Linked DNA regions of Homo sapiens: all the other regions are linked to region 1. The links are contacts of gene promoters, found by promoter capture Hi-C in blood cells and fetal thymus (Javierre and others, 2016). All regions are on one chromosome and are shown on one strand. Each heading gives the region's core, a stretch centred on a gene start or on the middle of the fragment in contact. The rest is flanking DNA. Distances are from core to core; before and after follow the strand shown. Region 1 holds the start of BCAS2 (BCAS2 pre-mRNA processing factor). Region 2 holds the start of PTPN22 (protein tyrosine phosphatase non-receptor type 22). Region 3 overlaps LINC01765 (long intergenic non-protein coding RNA 1765).

Region 1 (3,840 bases), core at 741-3,240:
GGAGGCTGAGGTGGGTGGATCACTTGAGGCCAGGAGTTCAAGACCAGCCTGGCCAACATGGTAAAATCCCGTCTCTACTGAAAATACAAAAATTACCCAGGCATGGTGGCAGGCACCTGCAATCCCAGCTACTCGGGAGGCTGAGGCAGGAGAATCACTTGAGCCCGGAAGGTGGAGGTTGCAGTGAGCAGAGATGGCACCACTGCACTCCAGCCTGGGTGACGTAATGAGACTCCGTCTCAAACAAAAACAACAACAAACTTAACTAACAATTTTTTCATGTTACTTTAATGTAAATAATATCTTTTTTTTTTTTTTTCCCTTTGAGACAGGGTCTCACTCTATTGCCAGGCTGGAGTGCAATGGCATTATCATGGCTCACTGTAGCAGTCTTGAACTCCCAGGCTCAAGTGATCCTCCCACCTTGGCCTCCTGAGTAGCTGGGGCTACAGGTGCATGCCATCATGCCTGGCTAACTTTTTAATTTTTCTTTTGTAGAGAAAGGGTCTCACTATGTTGCCCAGGCTGGTCTCAAGTGATCCTCACACCTCAGCCTCCTAAAGTGCTGGGATTACAGGTGTGAGCCACCACACCCAGCTAAATACTGCCTTTTAATAATACAATCCTTTCATAAATAAACGATTAGGTATAATGGGAAAAAATCCTCCAAGCTGTACATACTGAAATACTTGAATCCAATAATTTAGAAATGATATCTTACATTTCATTTAGCTAACTAGACCCTAACTAGAATCCTGGGTGTACTTCAAGGTTATACATTTAAAATAGTATCATACTCAATGTGTGGAGTAGAACAGCATCTGACTCCTTAGGCAATCATGGACACTCCCTTCTCTAATCCTCTTGTCCTTATACATACCCTCCGCTATAGGTCCTTTACATATTATTACACATTTATACATACTATTGTAAACTTTTTGTTTTATATATCTAGCTCCTCACTGTATTGTATTTTTCTGTATTCAGAAACCCTATCTTTTTTGGAGAGGATGTTTGTCTTAAATAAAGAAAAGAAAAATTAAAAGAAAACAAAATATATTAAAAAAGAAACCCCATATATCTCTATGATCTCAGAATCTAGAATGGCACCTAGCACTTGTAAAGTATTCATATCAGTGAAAATTATTGCCTACATTAATCAGAAATGTGTTAATAAAAACATCGGATAGATTACAGAAAAAAGGAGAAGGCTGAGAAAAAAGTAGTATACACTTGGATATGGTTTGTCCTTTCAGTCGTATCACATACATTTGGTAAATAACTAGACTTTAATATGCCACTCTCCAGTGGTTCTAAAGAGCTTAGGTAATTAGGCTTATACATATTAAAAAACCCTAGATCACTTGCTGTAGAGTGAATCTTGGCAGGAGAGGGTCCCTTTGAGAATTTACGCATGGATCCTATCTCAAAGAATGGTAGCCACAAATTTTTGCATTAAGTGAGTTGTGGAGCCCCAGAAAGTCTTCCTATGGATCTTAGAATAAGAACCTCGGAGAAGACTTATCTATCTAGTTGTTTTCAATAGACTGACACCTATACAGTAGGTAAGTAGTAGCTATGCAGGCAATGGTTAAAACTGGAATTTAAAGCTCTCAATCCAAAATAAAGGTTCACAGGAATTCTCGTTCACACCTAGGCTCAAGACATACTTACTTCAAAGGCAGAATAATCCGGGGCTGTCAGGTAGCTCAGGTAGTTCTTAGTAGGTCGGTATCTGCGAGTTTCCTCCTCCACCAGCGCTGCAGCCTAAGAAAGAGAATAGGGACCAGGGTAGAAGTGGCAAATTGTAACATGTTTCTTTCAGTACCGAGCCAGCTAGCAGTGAGTCAGCTACAAAGACACCCCGCACTCACCGCTTCCCGCACACCAGGGGCTTCATAACCTTGATCAAAATACGGCAGCGCATCCACCACAACCTCTCCAGCCACCAAACCTGTGCCCGCCATTCTGAGGACCTCAGGTTTGCCTGCGTTTTCTGCGTCTGCGTAAACTCAGTTATATTTAATTACGCCGGCGCCTGACACTGATGTAATCACGTTCCCTCCGTATTGACGTTAGTGCATGCTCAGTTGCTAATTTTGAAGGCGGGTCCGCCCGGTATCTAGAAATTGCCGGGCTGGTTTGTTTTGGGCGGACGTGACGTAACGTCTTGGCTTGTCTGCGTCAGCGAAAGGCCTCAATTTCCTGTCCTCTGCTTACTGCCCCTTTTTTTGCCTGCGAATGGCGGCGATTTGAAGTTGGGGCTTTTCGTTTCCTCCAAAACATTGATATCTGGAAAGGGAGCCCCTTAACACTTTTGGAGGGAACTGGCTGCAGCATTTGGCGGGGAGAGATAAACTGGTTTCCCACCTCTGCTTACTCCCACCTTCTCCCCTTAATCTTCTCTTCCTCTGTGCGAGACTTTTTTCCTTTTTTATTGTAGACACAGGGTCTTTGTTCTGCTGCCCAGGTTGGAGTGCAGTGGCGTGATCATAGCTCACTGCAGCCTCAACCCCCCGGGCCCAAGCGATCCTTCCACCTCAGCCTCCCGAGTAGCTGGGCCTAGAGGTGCACACCACCATGCCTGGCTAATTTTTAATTTTTTTTGTAGAGATGGAGCCTTTCTATGTTGCCAAGCCTAGCCTCGAACTCCTGGCCTCCCAAAATGTGGGGAATACAGGCGTGAGCCACTGCACCCCGGGTCATTCCTCTTTTACTTCCTTGCTGTACCCCAACTATCCTTCCCCCTCGGTGCCCTTAAAACCTTTGCATTGGGTAAGTACATTTTTTAAAGAGACTCTAGAATTGGGCGCCAGTCTCCAATTAAAATTGTGAAGCTTTATGGTCTGCGTATCAAAAGGAACCTCAGTTCCTTAAAAATCCTGTCATTTTGCCTTTAGGACTTAACGGTAATAGAATGGCATTCCTCACTGCCTCCGAACCACTCAAGCTGCTGCCCATGCACTCTCTTCTGCATGGCTCCTGGACTAAGCAGCCTCCCTTTGATTAAGCAGGTAAAAACCAAATAAAGTTGTCAGACTATATGCCCTGCCCAGTGTGCAGTCTAGACCCAGCCTTTGTCTGCCAAGAGCCTGGAAATGTTGACCTCCGTTATTAAGCCTGGTCAGTCTAAGACTAATTCTTATTACCGAAGTACCATTAGGTAAATGTGCTAGCTATAGATTTAAGTGACATAAAAGATCTTAAAGAATTCTCCAAGGGATCTGTGGGGGGTTTATGTATTTATTCATTAAAAGATCTGTAAACAACATTTTATACAAATCTTGATTCTTTTACAAAAATATCCAGAATTCCTAACACTTTACAGAAAACACAACAGACCTAAGGAAATGAAGCAGCTTCAGGCTGCGAGGATGAAGACACCATTGCTGAAGCAAAGGTCTCCTCCTAGAGGGATAGCCAGGATCCATCACAGTAAACCCTTTTACCCCCATTTTATAAACATCCAATTATTAACTGTTCCTGCTGGGTTGGAGTGTAAGAAGAGACCAAATGGAGAGATGTCTAGTAGAAGCCCCACTGGGGGTAACCTGCTTAACATTAAAAAAAAGACAGGCTCAGTTCTATTCCCTGGACCCACATCTGTAGGAATTATATTATACAGCACCAGTCTTAAATGGTGTTCTGCTTCAGATTCATGCATACCTGAATGGGTTGTAATGACAATACTGTACAAGTCAATAAACTGTATCACAATACAACTTACACAGTTTTGTAAGGTTGAATAAATACTTTCTGTGCCAGTTAAAACCATCAGCAGAAACTGAAGAAAACAAACTGACATTTGCTATAACATTAATCAATGAAAAGTGCACCATC
Region 2 (3,840 bases), core at 464-2,963, 710 kb before region 1:
ACTCAAGACTTTCAGAGTGTTTTCACATCTGCTATCCGGTACCAGAGTGTTAGCTCCAGGAGGCAAAGGTTTTGGTTCTTTTTGTTCACCGCTGTATTTTTAGTGCTTAGAACTGAACTTGGTACATACTAAGTGCTCAATAAATGGTACTCAATAAATGACCACATTTAATGATTGTTATTGATATTTAATCATCACAACAATCCTGTGAGGATAGGTAGGACATGTATTATTATCCCCATTTTATAAGTTAGAAAACAGAGAGATTTAAGAACATGTCAAATACTTCATAATTTGGTGAAAAAAAATCATGATTTAATTTCAGGTTTGTACTTCAGTTCCCCTCTTTCCACCCATTTCTTCACAACTGAAGAGCTAAGGTTTAAAATTCTTATATCTCTGAAACGCCAGCTGTAAGCATTCTAAAATACATGATAGGTACTATTAGACACCCTATGTTATCTGATATCTCAGCTTGTAGGGTGAATGAGGCCTACCCAGCTGCCATTGCATCAATAATCACAGTTCTCTCAAAGGAGATTCACTGTTCTTCTGGGTAATCTAATCCACCCAACCTGAAGCTACCTTGTACTCATGTTTCTCTCCTTGACCTACACTTGTCTCTACTCTCCATCCTAGCCATTCCACTTCTCCAAGCAAAAGAAGTTAAGGAAGCCCTGTTATTGAAAAAACACATGTTATAATATATTTTTCATATGAAAAAGAAAAGAAAAATGATGGCCAGACATAGTGGTTCATGCCTGTAATCCCAGCACTTTGGGAGGCAAGATGGGAGGATTGCTTGAAGCCAGGAGTTCGAGACAAGCCTGGGCAAAAAAGCAAGGCTCGTATCTACAAAAAAGAAAAAAACAATTTTTTTTTAAATTAGCCAGGCATGGCGATACACACCTGTGGCCCCAGCTACTCAGGAGGCTGAGGCAAGAGAATCACTTGAGGCCAGGAGTTCAAGGCTACAGTGAGCTGTGGTTGCACTGCTGCACTCCAGCCTGGGTGACAGAGTAAGATTCTGAATCTTAAAAAAACAAACAACAACAACAAAAAAAACTGTGGCAGTGGGTAGTTTTGGTGCTCTTCAAAAACCTTTGTCAACCAAATAGAATCCCAGAGGGGAGGCTAAAAATGTAATATTGCATGAAAAGTTAACATTGGTCTCTTTCTTCTTAATATTAATTAAAATTAGTAATATAAAGCATAAACCACAACTTAGATACCTGGGGAAATCTGGATGTTCAATTAATATTAGTGTTTTTACATCTGGAGTTGTATATGTCTTCTGTAGGATTCCTAACCAAACTCCAAAGAACTAGCAAACAAAATATTAAAACCAGTAATTTTGAGAGAATACCTGAAATACATGCAAACCACTCAGAGAAGTCAAACTTTTTTTTTTCTGTCTTCCCCGCCAAGGTCTCATATTTACTTTATCCCAAGAGCAATTTGGTCTCGGAAAATTGGACCCCCATAGTCAGTTAAATAGTGTATGTAACTACCCTGAGAGGGTCACATACAGGACTCACCAGAAATTCATTGGCAAACTCCTCTTTAGTAATTTTCTTGCTTTGGGCCTCATCCAGGAACTTCTGCAGAATTTCTCTTTGGTCCATGCTGCAGAGCAAGAAAAATAGTCTATAAGTAGGTTGAGGGAGGGCATGTCAAATGTGTGTCATGGCCGAGACACCTCCAAAAAGCCACTGCTGCCGCCTGAGCAGAGCATGCTGAAGGCTGTGGTTTACTGACTTCATCACAAGCCCTAGAGGAAATTAGTACGTAACCACCTTCTGTGGTCACATAACACAGCCATCATCTCACTCCAGGGCCCTAGTGCCTTCCTTCTCAGCAAAGGAACCTGGTTACAATTCAAATTTTTAACAAACAAGAGGCTAACTAGAACGTAAAGTGTGGTCTGCTTAACTGAGATTATTCCATTCCATCACCCATATGCAAAACTCACCTTTCTTCTTGCCTCCCAGAGAAAGAACAGAATTACAGGTCTCCTGAATGAGTTCTGTCTCTCCCCATTTTCCCAGTGAGCACAAGGGCCAAGTTGACACCTTCTGTTTCCTTATGTCCCAAATGAACTCTGCAAAGTTCAGTTAGGCCCAGGAAAGAAGACAGACACTGTTTAGAGTGAGTGACATGTCTTCTACCCGGACTGTTCATCGAAAGGTTTCTTGTCAGTGTGATCAATGAGAAACTTCTGTTCATCACAGAAGGTATTTTTATTCATAACTTTTAAGTCTGCTATATATACCTCAAACTCCCTTTTGAATGAAGCAAAGTCAGATGCTTCTGACAGTCTGTGTCTCTCCCAGGACTGGGGAAGTGCTGACCTCCATTAAGGGAAGTGTTGATTTCAGCACCTCTTCAACCCTCCCAGTAACCTTTGAAGCTTCACTTGGGTTCTGGATATAAAGACTAAGAGTGTTGGTCTATATAGGATCTAGAGCAAGTGGCCCCCACAAGGAGCACCTGACCAGACAGTTAGCTCAATACCCTGCATATGTAATGCTGGTAAACTGTGATGGAACAAAAAGAAAGTAAAATCAACCACCTTGCTGACAACATTGTAACTTTTAGGGCAGAAAGCCTGAAGAACTGTTTCTAAAGAACACATTTCTACTCTGCAACCAATGTCTTAGGAAATAAATTTGTTTCAGGAAGTTATGCTGTGCCTGTGGCATTTTGGCCCTGAAAGGCAGGCTCTTCTAGAAAAACTTTCCACATTTGAGCTTGCATAACCTCTCAATGGGTACAAGTCTACCCAAGTGCCTAATTCAGTGTGAGAACATCCAAAAATCAGTATATCATCTTTATTGAAGGCAGAAGTTCAACAAATGTTAACAAAATTAGTCTTGATCCTGAAGAAAACTGGGAAATGTGTTGTTAGGACTTCCTCTATTTAAGATATTAGCAATCCTTTCTGTTTTGCAACATTATTCAAACTTCCTTCAGGATATCATGATTCTGAACACTGCTTAATCTGAACATTAAAGATACTGCATGCTCTTTACTAAGTACTGCAAAAAAAAAAGAAAGATCATCGAGATATCTTGGTTATAGACAACTTAAAGACAATATTTCAAATTAAGAAACTCAATCCCAGTATACATAAATTAAAATAAACCCTCATTCTTCAGCAATATTTGTTAGGAATAGTATATTTCTTAAATTATCCCCATCTAGAATTAAGAGAGAATTTCTTGCTGCTCTAAGTAACGTGATGTTTACTTTGGCTATTTTAAAACATAAAATATGGGAAATCTTTGATTTATAAAAATACAAAATTTCAAGTTTGTAATAACTAAAACCATGTAAAAGTGTGTACATAGTTAAAGACTAAAAGAAGCAAAAAAGAATCAATTGTGTAAGTTTGCTTTCTAAAATTATCATAATTTTAGAATTATGATAAAGTTTGCTTTCTAAAATTATCATACCGTTTTTAAAATTAGAAATAAACATTTAAAAATCCATTAAGTTGTTCAACAAATTTATTGAGTACCCACTAAATTCTAAACATTGTCTTAGGAGATTGGCATACAACACTGAGAAAGCCAGAATATGGTAAAAACAAAACAAAACAAAACAAAAACATCCTTAGCCAGTTAATAAAGCAACTCAGAACTAAAGATACAGACATGATTACTGATAAAAATTAAAACACTCCTTAGGTAACTTTGGGAAAGAAAATAAAAATAAAAACATTCCAAACTAACTTGCTTAATTGCAGAGTAGCAAAGCATAATCCTAAAAGGAAAATGATTTTCTATGTTTGGACAAAGAAGATAATATAGTTTTATAATTTCTCTGTACCCTTAGAAT
Region 3 (3,840 bases), core at 1-2,500, 520 kb after region 1:
TTTGACCAAATATTTGGGGCCCCCCTGGCCTAGTCAAGTTGACATGTAAAATTAACCATCACAGAGAACAAAAGAAATGTAAAACAGGTAGACTAAATTGAAAACATACAATGAGATGGTAAATTTATACCTAAATATATCAGTAACTTCTGTTGAAAATAATCAAGAAAAAGAGAGATTGCACAAATAACCAATGTCAGGAAAAAAAAAAGATTAATAACTCCAGATCTGCAGAGATTTAGATAATAATAGGATAATATAAACAACTGCAAATAAATTTGAAAGGTAGGTAAAATGGACTGATTCCTTTGAAAAGTAACATCAGAATGCACTCAATGAAAATTAGAAGTTTGAATAGCCTTGTAAGCATTAAAAAATTGTATATGATCTTTTCACAAAAACAAAAAAGTCCAGCCCAGATTGTCCTTCAGTGGTGTGTTCTGCCAAACGTTTAGGTATGAAGTAATTCCAATCTTATGCAAACTCTACCAGAGAGTAGAAAAAGAGGGAGCATTTAAAAAATACTAAAATTATGAGACTTGTAGCAAGATCTCGAAACCTAAACCTGAAAAAGACAGGACAGTAATGAAAAGGAAAATTATAGGTCAATTTCACTTATGAACATAGATGCAAAAATCTTCAGCAAAATAATAGTCAACAAAATAGTAATATCTCACTTATTTGTGGGATCTAAAAATGAAAACAATTGAACTCATGGACCTATAGAGTAGGAGGATAGTTACCAGAGGCTGGGAAAGGGAGTGGGGAGTTGGAGGGGAAGGTAGGAATAGTTAATAAGTACAAAAAAATATAGAAAGAATGAAGAAGACCTACTATTTGATAGTACAATAGGGTGACTATAGTCAATAATAACTTAATTGTACATTTTAAAATAAAGAGTGTAACTGGATCGTTTCTAACTCAAAGAACAAATGCTTGAGGGGATGGACACCCCCTTCTCCATGATGTGCTTATTTCACATTGCATGCCTGTATCAAAACATCTCATGTACACCATAAATATATACACCTACTATATACTCTCCCAAATTTAAAAAGGTATGCATTAATACATAGAAAGCCTAATACATCATGACTGTATAGGGCAGGAATACAATGTTGATTTACATTTCAATCAGTATAACCTACCACATTAATAAAGGAGAAAAATCTGTGGTCATCTCAGTAGATACAGAAAAATCTTTTGATAATTCAACATCGATTTGTTGTAAAGATTCTAGGCAACTAGGTATAGATGGGAATTCATTGCTACAAGATAACATTTTGGTGACAAGACACATTCCTGCTATCACTACTTCTACTCATCACTGTACCAGAGAGCTCAATAAGAGAAATTAAATGTATAAGGCTTAGAAAGAAAGAAAGAAAGTTGTCATTATTTGCAGATGATCTAATTGTGTGTTTATTTTGATTTTCTACATAAAATAATAGGTTACTAGAATTAATAAGAGCGCTTATTAAATTTTCTGATGATAAAAATAAATGTGAGAATATCTTTTCATTAGATCAGTAATGAATCAGAAACTAAAATTTAAAAGAACATAGCTTAAAATAGCATAAGAAGTATCTATTCTCTAGAAAAGACATGTAAGAACTTTACAGGGAAAAATTAAAGTCTTTGTTGGGTAATGTTAAGGAAGCTGTTAATGAATGGAGAGATATGCTAAGTTTGAATTAGCAAAACCGACATTTAAAAAATGTCAATTCTCTCCAATTTGATGTATAGATTCAAAGCATTTACAATAAAAAATCTTCACAAAGATATTTTTTGTAGGTTTTTCATGGCAGCATGTGACAAGATGATGCTGAAAAATTTATATGGAAATTCAAAGGATCAAGAATAGCTGAAACATCACTGAAGAAGAACAAAGTGGGCTGAACTCGCTCTACTAGATATCAAGATTTATAAGCAACTACAGTATTTAGGACAGTGTAGTATCGGCACTGGGAGAGAAAAAAAAAAAAAAAAACTAAAAGGAAAAAGAGCCCAGAGACTGACTTTTGTGTATGTGGACAGTTTGTTTATGATGAAAGTACCACTGCTATGCACTGTGGGAAAATGTCCTCAAAGAATGACACTAGGGCAACTGGGTATCCCCATGTAAAAACAATTAACCCTAATCTCACATCACACACAAAAATCAACTCCATTTGGGGTATATACTTAAATGGAAGGTAAAACTATTAATATAAAGTTTATAGAGAATATTGTTTATTGCTTTTTTGGCCCCGATTCTTCTCTCCTCCCTGTGCCCATGCCCTTTCCCAGGTGACTTTGCAGTTCCTCTCATAAAAGGGGCAGATTATGTTTTTCCTCCCTGGACTCTATGTTTGGCTTAAGTCCTTTGGTGGAAGTGACAGTGTGCCATTCTGGGCCTAGGCCTCAAGGGACCTTGAACATCTCTGCTTGCCCTCTTCCACTTATGCCATCCCCATGAGAAGGATATGCCTGATCCAGCCCACTGACCTTGACAGGGAGATGAGAGACACATGGGTAGAGTTCTCTGGTGAAGCTGCCCCAGCCAAACCCAGCCTGGAGCCAAGCCCAGCCAAGATAAAGTGAGCCCATCCTGGACCAGCTGACCCAGGCACCTGAATGAGAACAAAATAATTTTTGTTTTCCATCATTGAGCTTTGGGTACATTTGTTAGGCAGCAATAAACTAACATCAGAAGGTAATATAGGAAAATATCTATATGACTTCCAGATAGGCAAATGTGTTTTAAGCTAGTCACAAAAGTACCTGCTCACCATAAAGAAAAAGAGTTTTTATGTTAAAATTAAGAATCCTCATTTATCAGAAAATACTGTTAAGAGAGTAAAGAGGCTTGCCATAAAATGGAAGATGATATTTGCAACCATTCAACAAAAAACCAGTATCGAGAATATTTTAAAAATTCCTACACAGAATTAAGAAAAGACAGATTATTTTACATTTTATATAAAAGTCCATCCACCTTTTATATGTACCTGTTGCACATAAAAATGAGCAAAAAGACTTGAAAGAGTATTTTGCAAAAGAGTAAATCCACCTGGACAATAAACATACGATAATGTTCTGAATCCCAGAAACCAGGGAAATGTAGATTAAAGTCAACAACAAAGTGGTAGCTTAGACCCCAAGATTAAAACAGTGTCAGTGAGAAAATACCAGTTACAGAGATAGTCAGGAACCTTTAAGAAACAAGATGCTGGATGTTACATTGAAAAATATGTGCTGAGCTGTGCTGCTCTGTAACTACCTGCCCTGTTGTGAATCTGACCCACAATGCCTGTGAGAGTGGTGTTTTCTCTGGAGGATTCAAAGGAAAGGACAGTTGCCTTCTTCCTTGTGTTGCTACAGGGCAGAGAGAATACTGCAGGAGGTGAGGGGCAGAACAGAGTTTATAACCTCAACTGCAGTGTGAAAATGCTGGTTACCTCCACCATGTCTTACGGTGTAGCAGCCATATGTTTTGAGTTGGGTAGATCCCAACCACCTTCAGGGATAAGCCCTGATTGCCCTAAGCCATTCATCATAATCCCATTTCCCTGGCCTTGGATGGCTATATAACCTACATTGATTCAATCAGACTGAGGTTCTGGACTCTTGCTCAGTATTAAACACATGTATGACCTAGAAGTGCTGCAGCCATTTTGCTACTACGAGGAACCCAGTCTGAAGACAAATTGTGTACAAGGGAAGGGGCAGAGCCAAGAGAATTATGGAATGAAATCCAGTTTGATTAGATCATGCCTGAAATTTTCTAATTACTACACCTTTCAGTTATATGAACCAATGAATTTCCTTTATTTTTCAAGCCAGTTTGAGTTGGCTTTC

What was found. Contacts are between HindIII fragments. The CHiCAGO score rates a contact against its expected background, and 5 or more counts as called.
Region 2: a contact is called between the fragment with the promoter of PTPN22 here and the fragment with the promoter of BCAS2 in region 1, in 2 of 17 cell types (total CD8 T cells and naive CD4 T cells). The highest score is 5.4, in total CD8 T cells.
Region 3: a fragment that was not itself captured here is called in contact with the fragment with the promoter of BCAS2 in region 1 in 1 of 17 cell types (fetal thymus); the score reaches 6.8 in fetal thymus.

The regions. Positions count from the first base shown.
Region 1 is chr1:114,579,625-114,583,464 of GRCh38, forward strand. BCAS2 (BCAS2 pre-mRNA processing factor) reads right to left here and starts at 1,991. Exons shown (of 7, transcript NM_005872.3): 1 at 1,875-1,991; 2 at 1,675-1,767. The coding sequence starts at 1,967. DENND2C (DENN domain containing 2C) reads right to left here. Exons shown (of 21, transcript NM_001256404.2): 21 at 3,226-3,840. LOC105378914 (a long non-coding RNA gene) reads left to right here and starts at 2,219. Exons shown (of 3, transcript XR_947719.4): 1 at 2,219-2,775; 2 at 2,901-3,014. The HindIII fragment of the contact is 8,807 bases long and covers 1-2,835 here.
Region 2 is chr1:113,869,999-113,873,838 of GRCh38, forward strand. PTPN22 (protein tyrosine phosphatase non-receptor type 22) reads right to left here and starts at 1,714. Exons shown (of 21, transcript NM_015967.8): 1 at 1,539-1,714. The coding sequence starts at 1,625. The region is part of intron 3 of AP4B1-AS1 (AP4B1 antisense RNA 1); the gene reads left to right. RefSeq lists enhancers at 852-901, 1,460-1,719. The HindIII fragment of the contact is 7,976 bases long and covers 1-2,408 here.
Region 3 is chr1:115,100,454-115,104,293 of GRCh38, forward strand. LINC01765 (long intergenic non-protein coding RNA 1765) reads left to right here. Exons shown (of 2, transcript XR_947722.3): 2 at 1,795-2,228. Among named protein-coding and RNA genes, the nearest start is that of LINC01765, 2.7 kb to the left of the region's middle. The HindIII fragment of the contact is 6,588 bases long and covers 1-3,840 here.